Regions from separate parts of the Homo sapiens genome. Here all the other regions are linked to region 3. Evidence: promoter capture Hi-C in 16 types of primary human blood cells and fetal thymus (Javierre and others, 2016). All regions are on one chromosome and are shown on one strand. The core of a region is centred on a gene start or on the middle of the fragment in contact, and the rest is flanking DNA. Distances in the headings are between cores, read along the strand shown.

What was found. Contacts are between HindIII fragments. The CHiCAGO score rates a contact against its expected background, and 5 or more counts as called.
Region 1: a contact is called between a fragment that was not itself captured here and the fragment with the promoter of GRHL2 in region 3, in 1 of 17 cell types (total CD8 T cells). The highest score is 5.4, in total CD8 T cells.
Region 2: a fragment that was not itself captured here is called in contact with the fragment with the promoter of GRHL2 in region 3 in 1 of 17 cell types (M1 macrophages); the score reaches 5.9 in M1 macrophages.

The regions. Positions count from the first base shown.
Region 1 is chr8:102,173,717-102,178,028 of GRCh38, forward strand. No RefSeq gene overlaps it. Among named protein-coding and RNA genes, the nearest start is that of MIR5680, 50 kb to the left of the region's middle. The HindIII fragment of the contact is 2,310 bases long and covers 327-2,636 here.
Region 2 is chr8:102,149,915-102,154,726 of GRCh38, forward strand. It overlaps the pseudogene LOC112268018. Among named protein-coding and RNA genes, the nearest start is that of MIR5680, 27 kb to the left of the region's middle. The HindIII fragment of the contact is 667 bases long and covers 918-1,584 here.
Region 3 is chr8:101,490,088-101,494,742 of GRCh38, forward strand. It overlaps GRHL2 (grainyhead like transcription factor 2), which reads left to right and starts at 2,352. Exons shown (of 16, transcript NM_024915.4): 1 at 2,352-2,702. The coding sequence starts at 2,683. GRHL2-DT (GRHL2 divergent transcript) reads right to left here and starts at 2,618. Exons shown (of 2, transcript NR_186782.1): 1 at 2,363-2,618. RefSeq lists an enhancer at 2,370-2,898. The HindIII fragment of the contact is 3,727 bases long and covers 1,276-4,655 here.

The DNA.
Region 1 (4,312 bases), core at 232-2,731, 680 kb after region 3:
GCTTACAGCTTGTGCCCTCTAGGGTAGCAGCCCATGTTGTACCTGGGGCCCTTTGAGCCATGGCTGGAGCCAGAGCAGCCAGGATGCAGGAAGCAGTGTCCCACAGCTGCCCAGGGCAGCGGGGCCCTGGGGCTGGCCCATGAAACCATTCTTCCCTCCTAGGCCTCTGTACCTGTGATGGGAGGGGCTACCTGGAAGGTCTCTGAAATGCCTTTGAGGATTTTTTTCCTGTTGTCTTGGCTATCAGCACCTGGCTCTTTTTCAGTCATGCAAATATATCTCGTAAGTGGTTGCTCTACAGCCTGCTTGAATTCCTCTATCCAAAAAGCTTTTTCTCTGTCTGGCACGTGGCCAGGCTGCAAATTCTCCAAACTTTTATCTCTACTTTCCTTTTAAATATAAATTCCAACTTTAAGTCATTTATTTGATCCTGCCTCTGAGTGTGGGTTATTAAAAGCAGCAGGTCACCTCTTGAACACATTGCTGCTTAGCAATTTCTTCCACCAGATTCCCTAAATCATTACTATTTAGTTCAGACCTCCGCAGACTTCCTAGGGCATGGACACAACACATCCAAGTTCCTTGCTAAGGCATAATAAAGGTGACCTTTGCTACAGTTCCCAATATGTTTCTCATTTCCATCTGAGACCTCTTCAGTCTGGCCTTCACTATTCATATTACTATCAACATTTTGGTTACAACCATTTAACCAGTATCTAAGAAGTTCCAAACTTTCCCTCATATTTCTCTCTTCTTCTGAGCCCTCCCAACTCTTCCAACTTCTGCCCATTGCCCAGTTCCAAGGGTGCTTCCTTATCTTTATAGCAATGCCCTACTCCTCAGTACTAATTTCTGTGTTAGGCTGTTCTCACATTGCTGTAAAGAAGTACTCAAGACTGGGTAATTTATAAAGAAAAGAAGTTTAATTGGCTCATGGTTCTACAGGCTGTACAAGCATGGTCCCACCATCTGCTTGGCTTCTGGGGAGGCCTCAGGGAGCTTTTACTCATGGTGGAAGGCAAAACAAGAGCAGATACTGTCTCACATGGCAGAGCAGGAACAAGGGGTGATGGCAGTCCCACACATTTCTAAAAATCAAGATCTCCTAAGAACTCACTCACTATCACAAGGCACCAAGCCATGAGCGCCCCCATGATCCAAACATCTCCCACCAAGCCCCACCACCAACATTGGGGATTTAAGTTCAACATGGGGTTTGGCAGGGACATATATTCAAACCGTATCATCCACTGAGAGTTAGCTGCTGCTCTGATTTGATTAATTTTCACTTTGGGACTCAGGCTAATGGAGCCACCTCAATCAGAAACGTTACCAGTCATTATGGCATTGTGAACCATATATGCTGGCTGTTAACACCTTCTGCTCAGAAGTGGCCCACATTTGTTTTGTTTTGTTTAGAATAAACACATCTGGAATGTTTCCCATACTTGATTGGTCAAAGCAAGTCACATGGCCACTTCTGGGTTCAACAGGGTAGGAATGCATAATCTTCCCATAGATAGAGACACCGTAGAGAGAAGCACCAAAATCATGGGTGAACCATAATATAGTTGACCACAGTGGGTTGTTATTTTACTCCTTAAAAAGTGGTCCTTATACTCAGAAATTCAACTAAAGTAGGCCTGTAACTACAGTACTTTTTGCCTATGTGGCTGGATTTAAAGATTAACAATACAAGGCATTCAATCTAAAGACATCAAATATTTTTATGTGTGGTAGATATTCTGTGATCTTTCTTATAAAAGGGTATTCTTTCATTGTTTTATCATGGATAAACATATAGCAATTTACAGTCATCAGAAAATTAGAATCTCAAAATCTAAATTATAAGGGTATAAGTGAGCTAGATACCTATACTTTTTCCTAATAGCTCTTATTCACAAATACATGACTGAAAGGATGGAAGAAGAGTGTGTGTGTGTGTGTGTGTGTGTGTGTGTGTGTGTGAGAGAGAGAGAGAGAGAGAGAGAGAGAGAGAGATTGAGAATTGAGGAGGAGGGCAGACCTACCTAGAAATTCAATACCTTGTCCAGAGAGAGAGAGAGATTGAAATTGAGAATTGAGGGGAAGGGGAGACCTACCTAGAAATTAAATACCTTGTCCAGCACTGGAAGTTCCTAATACAACTTGTTAGTTCTGCCAGGAACCACCATGGACAGTTCCCATGGCACGCCTTTGCTTCAGAGAGAATCACCACGTTCTTGGGGTAAGTACATTCTGCACAACCCATTAACTCCATGCAAAAGTGACCATATTTCTCATTGTTGAAAGGTGTGAAGTTCTAGGATAAACAGCTAGATTTATCATCTTTTCAAGTAAAAGGAATATTTGAGTCATGGAATGCCACTTGCAGTTTCTAATAATACAAATATACTTGGGATAAAAACAAGTATCTTCAATAAATAATCTTTATCTTTAATAAATAAGCATTTTAGTGAAATTACAGAGCTTTGACAGCCTAATAAAGATACTTCTGTATCATCAGATATCAGAGAAATGCCTAAAAGGTGATCTTGGCAAGGCAGAGAAGAATTAAAAGATCTTTGCCAGTGATCCTGTCTTGGCTGTATCCACCAGAATGAAGACATAAGATTCAGCCCTCAAACACTAATCCAAGCTTGTGGAGCTGGCATGACTTAGTCTAGCAAAGTAAGTGGTCTTCCAAGTCGAGCATACTGAGTCTGAATCCTATTTCTGCCACTCACCAACCATGTGACCTTGAACAAATTAATCTCTCTGAGCATTGATTTTCTCACCTGTAAAATGAGAATAACAGCCCTTATTATTATGGCTGTGGTGGAGATTAAATGAGATAATATTCGTGGCACATGGTAAGTCCTTAATAAAGCATAGCTGTCATCAATCAATCAGTCATCAGCAACTTCATCTTCATCTTCATCATCATGAGCCAATCTATAGAAGGAACTAGGGAGCTACAAAGGAAGCTCAATCATAAAACATTCCACAGGCTGATAGAGGTAATGTTTGTTTTCACAAATACATTTTTAATGTCACTACATATCCTAGATTTCTGATTTTTAAAACATCATGATTACTTTCATCAATTAACTGACTAGTGATTGATTTAATGCCTTATTTAAAAGGGTTTAGAAAATATGGGTATTACAGTCCTAATTGTTTTTCTCATTAAATTCAGCAGCAACCATAGTACCACAAAAATGAGTGTCTTCATAATTGAACTATTTCCATTCTCACTGAGAAGTGTCTGAAATTTGTAATTTTATTAACTGAAATGAGTCTTCATCCTCATGCAGAAAGAAAAAGCATCTGCTCCTAATAATAATGCCATGAAAAAATTATCACAAAAATCAGACATTTTGTATTTCCTCCTTGGATAAATTTGCAAAAAAACCTCATCACTTTGTAGGGTTCTCTTGAGGGTGAAACTTAAATCCATCCAAAAAGTGTTGCCTTCTGAACTTAATTGCTACCAAATTATTTTATTTGCATAAGCCAATTTTTACTGGGTGAAGCACAATTTGTAGGATGAAGTTTTTCTGAAAGGCATAATGGGGAAAAATTAATTATAGTGCTCTAGAGTTCACCCAAAAGCACAGAAAATACACATTAATAAATGACTTTGTGTGGATATCTGGAGCTCATAGAGGTATGGCTATTTCTCTCCCTGAGATAGGAATGACTTTTTCCCAGGTACTCTGGAAGCCATGGTAGCTTTGGTAGACATATTACTGAAATATAGCCCAAAAGTAGACAGGCACTTTAGGCTTGCCACTTCATTTCACCAAAATGCCGTTCTACATCAGGTCTCTGAATTGTCGTTTCACTCAGAGTTTATTAATCTAAAATTTGCTTTCTCGCTTGAAGAGATGAAAATTAGAGATGCTTTCCTCATGAGCTACCCTCTCTTACTATGAAACCCCAAGAGAGTACTGTTCATAAATGAACCATACATGAAAGAGGAACTATAGCTAGAGAACAAAAATATGAAGACATGTCCAAAGAAAGGCAAACTTTAGGAATTGTAAATTTATCATTTTTAAAACAAATAAATCAATATTGGGCAAGAACGTTGAGAAACAGATACTCTTATCCATTGTGGGTAAAACTATAAACTTAATATTAACTTTTTGAAAGTTGGTACTGTGTTTCCAAAACTAAGAATATGGAAATCTTATCAAAGGCAGGTGAAGACCATGGGGTTTAGAGTTGGAGGCCTGTCTTTAAATCCCTATCCATTACCTGCTATGTGACTCTAGACAGCTTTCTCAACTTCTCTGAACCTCAGAATCCTCATTTATAAACATTGGGA
Region 2 (4,812 bases), core at 1-2,500, 660 kb after region 3:
ATGGTGGATGGAGGCAAAAGGACGCATCAAGGAGAGCAGTTTGGGACACAATTGGTTCTCCATGTACATTACTTTATTGTATCCTCATAGCAACCCTGTGAAGTACTATTGTCTCCATTTCATAGATGGAGAAACTGAGGCACAGAAGCATTAAGAAACCTGCTAAGTCATACAACGAGTAAGATAAACAGGGCACTAGCATGATGAGAAAGGAACATAAGCAATATGGCAGACAACATAGATTGTTTTGGCTGCTCAGCACCTACCTCCCTGCTTCTGATAACAATTCTAAAAGAATTGCTATGGGGATGCTGCACCTTCTCTATTTATATCCCATGCACTTCATATGACCCAAAAGTGGACATGCTGGGTATCACCAGCATTTGCCTTGCAATCGTTTTTTGGCAAATAACCCAAGAATTGGCATGGATGGGGAAATGACCCAAGTTCTTTGAAATCTAAGAGATCTAGATTCAATTCTAGAATTTTCATTTGGACTATCAGGAAAGCAGGTACTCTTTTTCTGCAAGGAGGAACATTTGAACTGAAAAGCAGTTCTGAGTTCTGTGGTTGTCTTGCCCCATAAGAAGAAAGCCTAACAAAGAATGAAACCAACACAGTGGAAGTCAGATCTATGAGATGGAGAGAAACCAGATTCTAGTGACATTATCCAAGCCACTCTATCCAGCTTTCCTTGGAGCTAGATTAACCCTACACCTTCAACAATATTCGTAAGTTATTTTTTTAGTCAAGTAGTTAGAGTCGAGTTTTCTGTCTCAGCTTCAACTTTGACCTGAAAGAGCCCTACCTGATAGATAAGGGTTTCTCTCTCTGGATAGAAATGACTTGAACATGCTTTTAGGTTGAGAGGAGGCTAGTTGAGTAGGAAATTATTTAGAAAACAGTAATATAAGAAAAGCTTTATTTTACTTGCTTATATATTTATTTAGCTCTGGGTAGTACAGATTGTCTTATATTTTATTCCCACTATGTGTACATCCTATTATCATCCAAGGAAAGTGCCTCTGAGGCAAAATAAAAGCTCAATATCCAAAGAATGATTATACACCATGGTCTACTCACTAAAGGCAAAAATCATTTTAAAACATCTTTTTTAATTTCTAGGACTCCTTCATCTCATGTATTCACATGGCCAGCTCCCATTTAGCTTTGAAGAATTAGCTCAATGGTGTCAAACTCTGGAAAGATGCTCCTTTAATTTTCCTCAACCCTATCTTACGAGCTAAATTAGAGGCCTCTATTTGATGTCCCATGTCTAATGCTTATGAGGATCAGAGCAATTTTAACAACCACCATAGAATCACATGATTGCCAAACCTCCAGACTCGATGAGCCCCATTAAACCATGATGGAGACACAGTAAATGCAAGGAAATCAGAGTGGAGAAGAAACTGTGTTACCGTTACCCTCCCAGATAGCCTCTCTCAAACTCTAAGTATGCTAATGAAAGAACCTGTAATTTGCTCCTCCAAAATAACGAAGAGCATTAGAAGTAACTCACTTTCTCTTAATGTTTAGGGTCTGTTTTTATTAATGGCATTTTTGGTCTGACTATACTTATCAAGCTTTGAGGCTAAAGGGAAAATAAGTTGTGCCTAATTTACATGAAGATAGAGGCTTAGGGAGGAATGCTTTCATCTGACTGCATGCAGTATAGTGGAAAGAAAGGATCAGGCATGTACATGCAACCCTACATTTCTGAGTTTTTACTTCTACTCAGTGTGCTTTTGAAAATCAGAACTGGTTAGAGAAGGGAGTTAAACCAACTAACACTGGTCTCTGCCATTCTTTACGAGTTGCCCTTTCAACAAATCTCCTTATATTTTCAAGGGCCTGAAGAGCAATGGCAGAAATTGCAAGAAGCCTGGCAGGATGGTGACATGGGATGCAGGCAAAAGCAAAAGTAAAATTCATAATTGAGTTACACGTGGAAAGTTAGAAAATTGCCCACTTTTAAAAGTATTTTAACTCCCTCTGTCCAACCATTATGAAATCTAGGAGCCACCTGCAAACTATGTGTTCAATTGTTTCCTTCAAATTGACTGTTTCCTAAATCAGTCAGTTTTAACATCCATTACCATTAGCATAGAGTTTGAGAAACTTAGATGTCTTTGAGAAGACATCCAAAATGTGGCAGAATATGACACATGATAATATGTGACACTGACTATGTGAATTATCAAAGGTGAGTACAGTTCTATTTATTCTGCTAAAGTATACTCTGCAGAAATTGTTTATTGAGATGAACTTGGAAAGCAAAGATAAACTATGAGTGCCATCTCTCTAAGCCTAGGTCCTCTGGAAAGATGAGCCTGAGGCAAGGGTGAAGGTATAGATGCTTTCATTGAGAGGTGCAGGCCTAGGAGGAAGTGAAGGAGAAGAAAAGTGGGAGTGAGACAAAGAAAGATGTAAAGCAAGGCTGGATTACTGTGCTGGCTAATCCTTTACAATGAGTCACAAAGAGATGTAGCAGGTCATTGAGCAGGTTAATTTCCTGGAACTATGGGACTTTTCTGAAAGGGCTTCAAAGAAGAACTGTACTGCAGAGAAATCTATAGAAGGGAGAAAGGAAATAGAATCTATCTGCCCAGTTTCTGCATGGCTCCCATTTCCTATTGGTTAAGGTTTACCCCATAGGCAGCTAACTCCCCTACATTGCCAGGCCATGTCATCCAGCCACCTGGTGGCCACTGGAAAATCCAGATTCCACATCCTGCAAGACACCATTCCACTCAGGTCTAGAAAGAGAAGGAGTGACTTGTCGCATGTGAGCTGGTGGAGGGAAGGTACATGAAGCCCTGGGGCTCCAACTTAGGGGACCTGCAAAGGTTTTCGTATTCTCCCTTTAAGATGTGTCCCTGACCAAGGCTGCATTGGGGCAGTTCAAGTTGGAAAATATGTCAGACAACAAACACTAAAGGAACACTCATTAGAAATTTACTTAGTATTAACATAGGTTCTGTGCAGGATATTAAGATGTTTGTAACTCAACTTTTGCCCTTAAAATAACCAGACATGCATAGAGATCAGAGCTCTGGGCTACTAAAGCTATTAAGATTTCCAGGGCAGGATGCCTAAGAAGAGGCAGCTGCACATGGGAAGGGCCCCAGAAGTACGCATAGGATTCACTGCATCTCCTTAGTTATCTAGTGCTGCTCAACAAATTACCCAAAATGTAGCAGCTTAAAATAACACTCATTTATTATCTCCTGGCTTTTGTGGGTCAGGAATCCATTCATGGCTTACCTGAGTCCTCTTCTTCAGGAACTTCTACAAGGCTGAAATCTTCCAGGGCTAGGGTCTCACCTGAAAGCTCAACTGGGGAGGATTCTCTTCCAAATTCACTTTCTTATTGTTGGAAAGATTCAGTTCCTTGAGGGCTGTTGGACTAAGTGCTTGTTCCTTGTTAGCTGTTGGCTTGAGGCTACCCTCAGTTCCTTGCCATATAGGCTTCTTCAACATGGCAGCTTGCTCATCAAAGCCAACAAGTCTGCTAGCAAAACAGAAGCGATGATATGTTATAACCTAATTACAGAAGCAATATGCTATTACCTTTGTTGTATTCTGTTGATTAGAAACAAGTCGTTAGGTCCAGCCCATACTCAAAGGGAAAGGATTCTTTCTGTAAGGGCATGTAGATCAGGAGGTGGAAGGACCATTGAGAGCCACCTTAGAAGTCAGGCTACCATAGTTGGACTGCAAGACAAGATTACCCAGGGCCCTGCAAAGATCACATGTTATAGGGTTCAGAGCTAGGGAAGCCAGAATGAAAAGACGTCACTAATTGCTAGAAAAGCCCTGAATACTTCAAACTTAAACAATACACTTATAAATAACTCATAGATCAAATAAAAAATTACCAGGATAATTAGAAAATATTTTGAACAGAATAAAGTATATAAAAGTATAATATATAAAAATCTATGGGCTGTAACTAAAGTTATAATAAAGGAAAAGTAATAACCTTAACTGTTTATATGAGAGAAGAAGAAAGGTTTAAAATTAATGAAATAACTAAACACCTAGAGAAGTTAGAAAAAGATAAGCAAATTAAACCTAAAATAAGTGGAAAGATGAACATAATAAAGATACAACAGAAATCAATGAAATAAAAAACAGAAATACAGAAAATTAATAAGATCAAAAATTGACTCCTTGTGGCAGAATTCATAAACCCCTAGCAAACCTCAAGAGAAAAATAGAGAAAAGGCAAACTGCCAATATCAGTATTCAAAGAGGATGTCACTACAGAAACCATGGCATCAAAAGTATAGTATAGGAGCAATATGAACAACTTTGTGCCAATAAATTCAATAACTTAGATAAAATGAACAAATTCCTTGAAAAATTCAACTTATCAAGTAACGAATATGTTACATCACAGAAGATCCCCAGGGCCCTGTTTGGCACAAGGTCTGAAACAGGGAAGGGAAAACTGCAAAAAATGCTATAAAGCAAGCTCTTTAGAATAAAAAGAAATGGCATCATATGGTAATTCAGATATACTGGAAGGAATAAAGAGCACCAAAAATAGTAGCCTGTGGATGAATATAAAAACTATAGTCATTGGCTGTGGGGCTCAGGTGCAGCCTGAGCTGTTGGTTCTGCACTGAGATGTTCCAAAGCATTATTAAAAATGTTTGGATCCCCATGAAGCCCTCCTATACCCAAGCATGCCAGGAGATTTGGGTAGGAATGGGGTTGATAAGCATTATTGCTTATAAAATCAGAAGTGCTGATAAAAGAAGTAAAGCTTAGAAAGCATTGAGTCTTGCATCCGCTCATGGTCAT
Region 3 (4,655 bases), core at 1,102-3,601:
ATTCTGGTAAGAATTCTACACTTGGTCAAACTCTAGTAAAAGTAAAAGTTGAATAAAGACATATTCAAGTATGTAATAACTCAAATTTTTACCTTCTGTACCCTTTCTTGGGCTGTTACTAAAACATGTGCCATGGAAAATGAAGCAGTAAACCAAGAAAGAAGGCACAAAACACAGAAATGGGGGTTCTCACACTACAGATTAAGGAGTGTCCCAGGCCGGGCACGGTGGCTCACACCTGTAATCCCAGCACTTTGGGAGGCTGAGGCAGGTGGATCACCTGAGGTTGGGAGTTCTAGACCAGCCTGACCAACATGGAGAAACCCCGTCTCTACTAAAAATACAAAATTAGCTGGACTTGGTGGTGCATGCCTGTAATCCCAGCTACTTGGGAGGCTGAGGCAGGAGAATCACTTGAACCCGGGAGGCAGAGGTTGTAGTGAGCTGAGATCACACCGTTGCACACTAGCCTGGGCAACAGAGAGAGACTCTGTCAAAAAAAAAAAAAAAAAAAAAAAAAGAGTGTCCCAGGATGACACTTGAGAAGCGGATCCATAGAGCAACTCATCTCCACTGAAACAGTAGAACAATGAATTTCTGGAGGAATTGTTTTCAGGGCAAAATTGGAATTGATTGTTTGATCATTTGGAAAATAAACATGATAGTCATTTGATAGATCAGTTGTAGAAAAATATCAGGATGGGGCATAACAAACTAAGTAAATAGATACAAGGTTTTATAAGGAAGAAAACAAGAATAGTACACTATTGGCTGTGTTGTCATTGCTATTGGCATAGTCACTTACTTAGCTCCTAAACTGTGAAAGTGCTGTGTTGGAAGGAGAAGTTGCTTGGCATGAAAGAGCTAAATCCTAATCTGAAGCAACAGGTAGTCAGAGCACAACATCTATTGGCAAATCAAGAGATGGCAGTACAAATTATTTAGAAATAGGGAGGTAAATGACAGAAGAGACAGATAAAAGCAGAATATGGCTGCCTCTAAAAAGGAGAGGAACATGATAGGTATTGCATTATCTTAAAATATTATATTAAAATAGTACCTGCATTGTCTTAAAATATATTATTTCTTTAAAGTGTGTGTTTATATTGTTTTTTAAAAATACAATTTTGAAATTTATTGTTGAAAATGGACACATGGAACAAACCAAACCTTGTTTTATCATGTAATTTTCAGAAAATATGTGATCCATAAAGATTAAAAGAAAGTTGTATTAAGTCTGGCAGCTTTAGTATTAACTTGAAATAAAATATGGCAAGCTTTCCACGTCCTCCTTTATTTCCACAATCCATATGTACGAGCTAGATTCCAGTCAGAACTTCCACAAATACTTCACTCTTTGGTAGCAGCGGTTATAAATTACGCCTTTGCTAATTTGCGTTGTTCCCAACCAGGAGAAACATTACCACAAAAAAAGTCAGTTTCATCCTGCAGTGTTCCCGCAGCAACCATATTAAGCTGGAAGAATAAAGCTCCTTTGTAGTAGTAGCGTCTATTGAATTACAATGTAAATGTTGATGCCTGCCTGGAAACGTCAAATGACAACAGGTTTACAGAACGAATTCAGTGGTTGTTTGCAGCTCTGGAATCCCAGGCTGCAGAGTTGAGATCGAAGAGGTGCGTCTGGCCATCTTAGCGTTCATTCAACCAAATCTCCTCACTCCATCAAAACCACGCCACTCCCCACCTGCCCAGCTCGTAAAAGGATGCTCACCTGTTTGAAAATCTGTAATATATCTGATGTCTTTTACACAGCAGGACACGAAAAAGTGTTTGTTGTGGATAAGAGTGTTAAAAATTCAATTACGCAACAGACCAAACTTTGTGCTTCTTTCCCCCTCTCAGCACAAAGTAACTTTAGTCCCGTCCTCTTCTGCCACTGTCAAACAGCCCTGTTACTGTGGGCATTAAATGCCTTGTGGCGTACTGCGCATTTGATTCTGGTTGACTTGGGATACCTGAGCTCGGCTCTCATTAGCTCTTCCGCTCGACCCACAATCCCTAGTGTTTGCAGGTGTTGCATTCCCCCAACCCCTTTCTTCTCTTCAACCAGTAGCCTCCACCTTCCCATCCCTGCTTTGGAGAAGGAGGAAAACGCAGCTTGAGATCTACTCGAAGAACTGACCCTCAGCTCTCACAGGCTGCCGCCGAGCTGCAAGCATGCCGCCGCTCCACTCGGGTAAACTTCGGAGTGAGTTACCTGCACTCGGAGAAGGGCCTTACCTGAGCGCGCCTCTGCCAATGGCAGCTCACCTGAGGGAGCTCCCCAGCCAATCATCGCGCAGCTCGTCCCTCGGGCTTGTACCCTTTAGTGAAAGAATTCAGCTCCTTGCGAGAAAGTTACCTGTGGCCGCCCAAGTCCGCCACTTTCTGCTCTGTGTCTGCCCATTGCCACGATCCAGGAGGACTCCGCGCCGCCCGGCCGCCTCCGAGCTCGGGCCCCATGTGAGGGGCCCCCCCTTATCCCACCTTTCCGGCTAGGTGAGGGCGCGAGCGGGCGAGCGAGCGAGAGTGGTGAGGGGGGACGGAAAAGCAGAATTACCTGTAGCTCTTGTTCTGCCATCTCGGGCGCTCTCACACACCTTCACCTGCACAGACTTGAAAGTCCAGTTTCACCAGAGGCTGAGGCTCCAGGAAAAGCGGAGCAAGTTCATTGGATCAAACATGTCACAAGAGTCGGACAAGTAAGTGGATCACACGCGCCGGCTGCTGCTACTACTACCACTTTGGGCTGATGGCAACTGGTTTGTTATGTTTTTGTTTTTAAGTTGCTATTGTTGGTATTTTTCTTTCTTTTTTCTTTTTCTTTTTGGTGGATCCAGACTTTTCCGCATTATGTTTCTACCCTGATTAAGGGGAGAAACCCTACAACAATGTGAATATTTAATATCCCCTTTGGGCCTTGATAGTAAAAGTGGGTTTTCCTTTTCCTTCTTCCCTTAGGAATGGTCTCAGCTCCCGCTCCTGGATGAATACTTGGATATTGCCAGAGGTTTTGGTAGATGGGCGCGGGAGGCCTGCTCTTCCCTCTCTGTTTTAGCTGCTCCCACCGATCTGGCGTTTAGGGCCATTTGGAAGTTCAGCTGAGTTCCTTCGATTTGTCCAAAGGGCCTACTGGAAAAGTGGGGCTTGGCCGCTTTTGTGTGACCGCAACAAAGAGCTTTTATATGAGGCAGAAACGGCCATCTTCTCGCACCGGGCAGGAGGGTGGGCGTGAGTGCGCGCCCGCGTGTGGCCCCGATGGGAGGCGAGGCGCTGGGAGGCCGGGGGGCGCGGGGGCGGCCGGCGCCGTCCCCCACTCCCTCGACATCCCGCCTTCCTCCCCCCTCCCCCGCCTCCCTCCCCCGGGTCCGCCCCCGCATTGTTTGGCCACCTTCCTCAGGTGCCCGGGGGGAAAGGACGGTTCGCGAACTGGGGGAACTCATGTGAGGCCTCGAGTTAGGGCCTCGGCGGGGCGCGAAGGGGCGCCTGCCACTGAGCGATTCACCCGCGCCCCCGACGGCGTCTGCACGCCCCTCGAGCTCGCGGCCCTCCACGCAGTTGGCCGCCACCTCGGACGCGGCAGGCGGGACTGCGTGGGGCGCGCCGAGCCTTCTCGGGGTGCTCTCGCCGTCAAGGCCGAGGGCTCGGGGCGGCGGGAACGCTGGGCTCGCGTCCTTCCCGTCCCGGACAGGCACTCCAGACGCGTCGGGGAGCCACAGCCTGCGCGGCCGGAGCCGCCCGCGGGTCACTGGGCCCGGTCCGGCCGCGTCCTGACGGCCTCCCCCCTGGCCGGCCCCCGCCCTCGGAAGGCTTTGTGCGAGCCGGGGGAGGTGGGGCCTGGGCGGGCGCGGGAGGGAGCCGGAGGTGGGTCCCGCGGCCTTTCTCGGGATTCGGCGGGGACACTCCCTTCCCCCTCCTCTCGGGCGCGTCCGGGCCTGGGAACTGGCTGCGTCCTATTGGAAGTGCGCGGGGCCGCCCTTTTGCTTTCCCCGGTAACTTTGCCGTGGCGTTGCGGCCACCCCGAGGGGACCTTCCTGAAGGTGTCTCGCCGGAGAGGGCCGGTGCCCCAAGGCCGCGGGCCGCTGGGCCTGTCATGGAGAAGTGGCGGGGACCCGTCCCAAGTTGAGGGACCACGAGGGAGGAGTGGGAAGGCCCTGCGGACCTGTTCAGGGGTGGAGGGGAAGGACTAGCCTCAACATAAAGCCGCTGGCAGGTTAGGCGAACCTAAGAAAATGCGCTGTCATACTTAAAAAGCAAAAAACTGCCAGATAGTTGTACCCCGTTAGCCACCGATGAGGAATTAACCGAGTACAGCATACCGGAGGGGAAGAACTAGCGTTACCAACACGGGAGCGGGTCAGAGGCAGGGTAGGAAGAGGAGAGTGTGTGGTTGTCTGAGAACACCCCCAGCTCCTCCCCATATCTCTCTAGTCTTCAAGGAAACACGACTCGAGTTTGAAATTTTCAGTAGCCAAATCCGGAGGCGACAGCAAGTTTTTGGGGTTTGTTTTGATCTTTGCCTGCGTCAAAGATGATTGCAAATCTAATTTAATTAATCGCGCAATTAACATTTAGTTTGCTTAGTTTTGTGATACAACAGAACTCGAATTCTGAATGAAAACGGGTCGGTCTTTATTTTCACCAGTTATACTTAG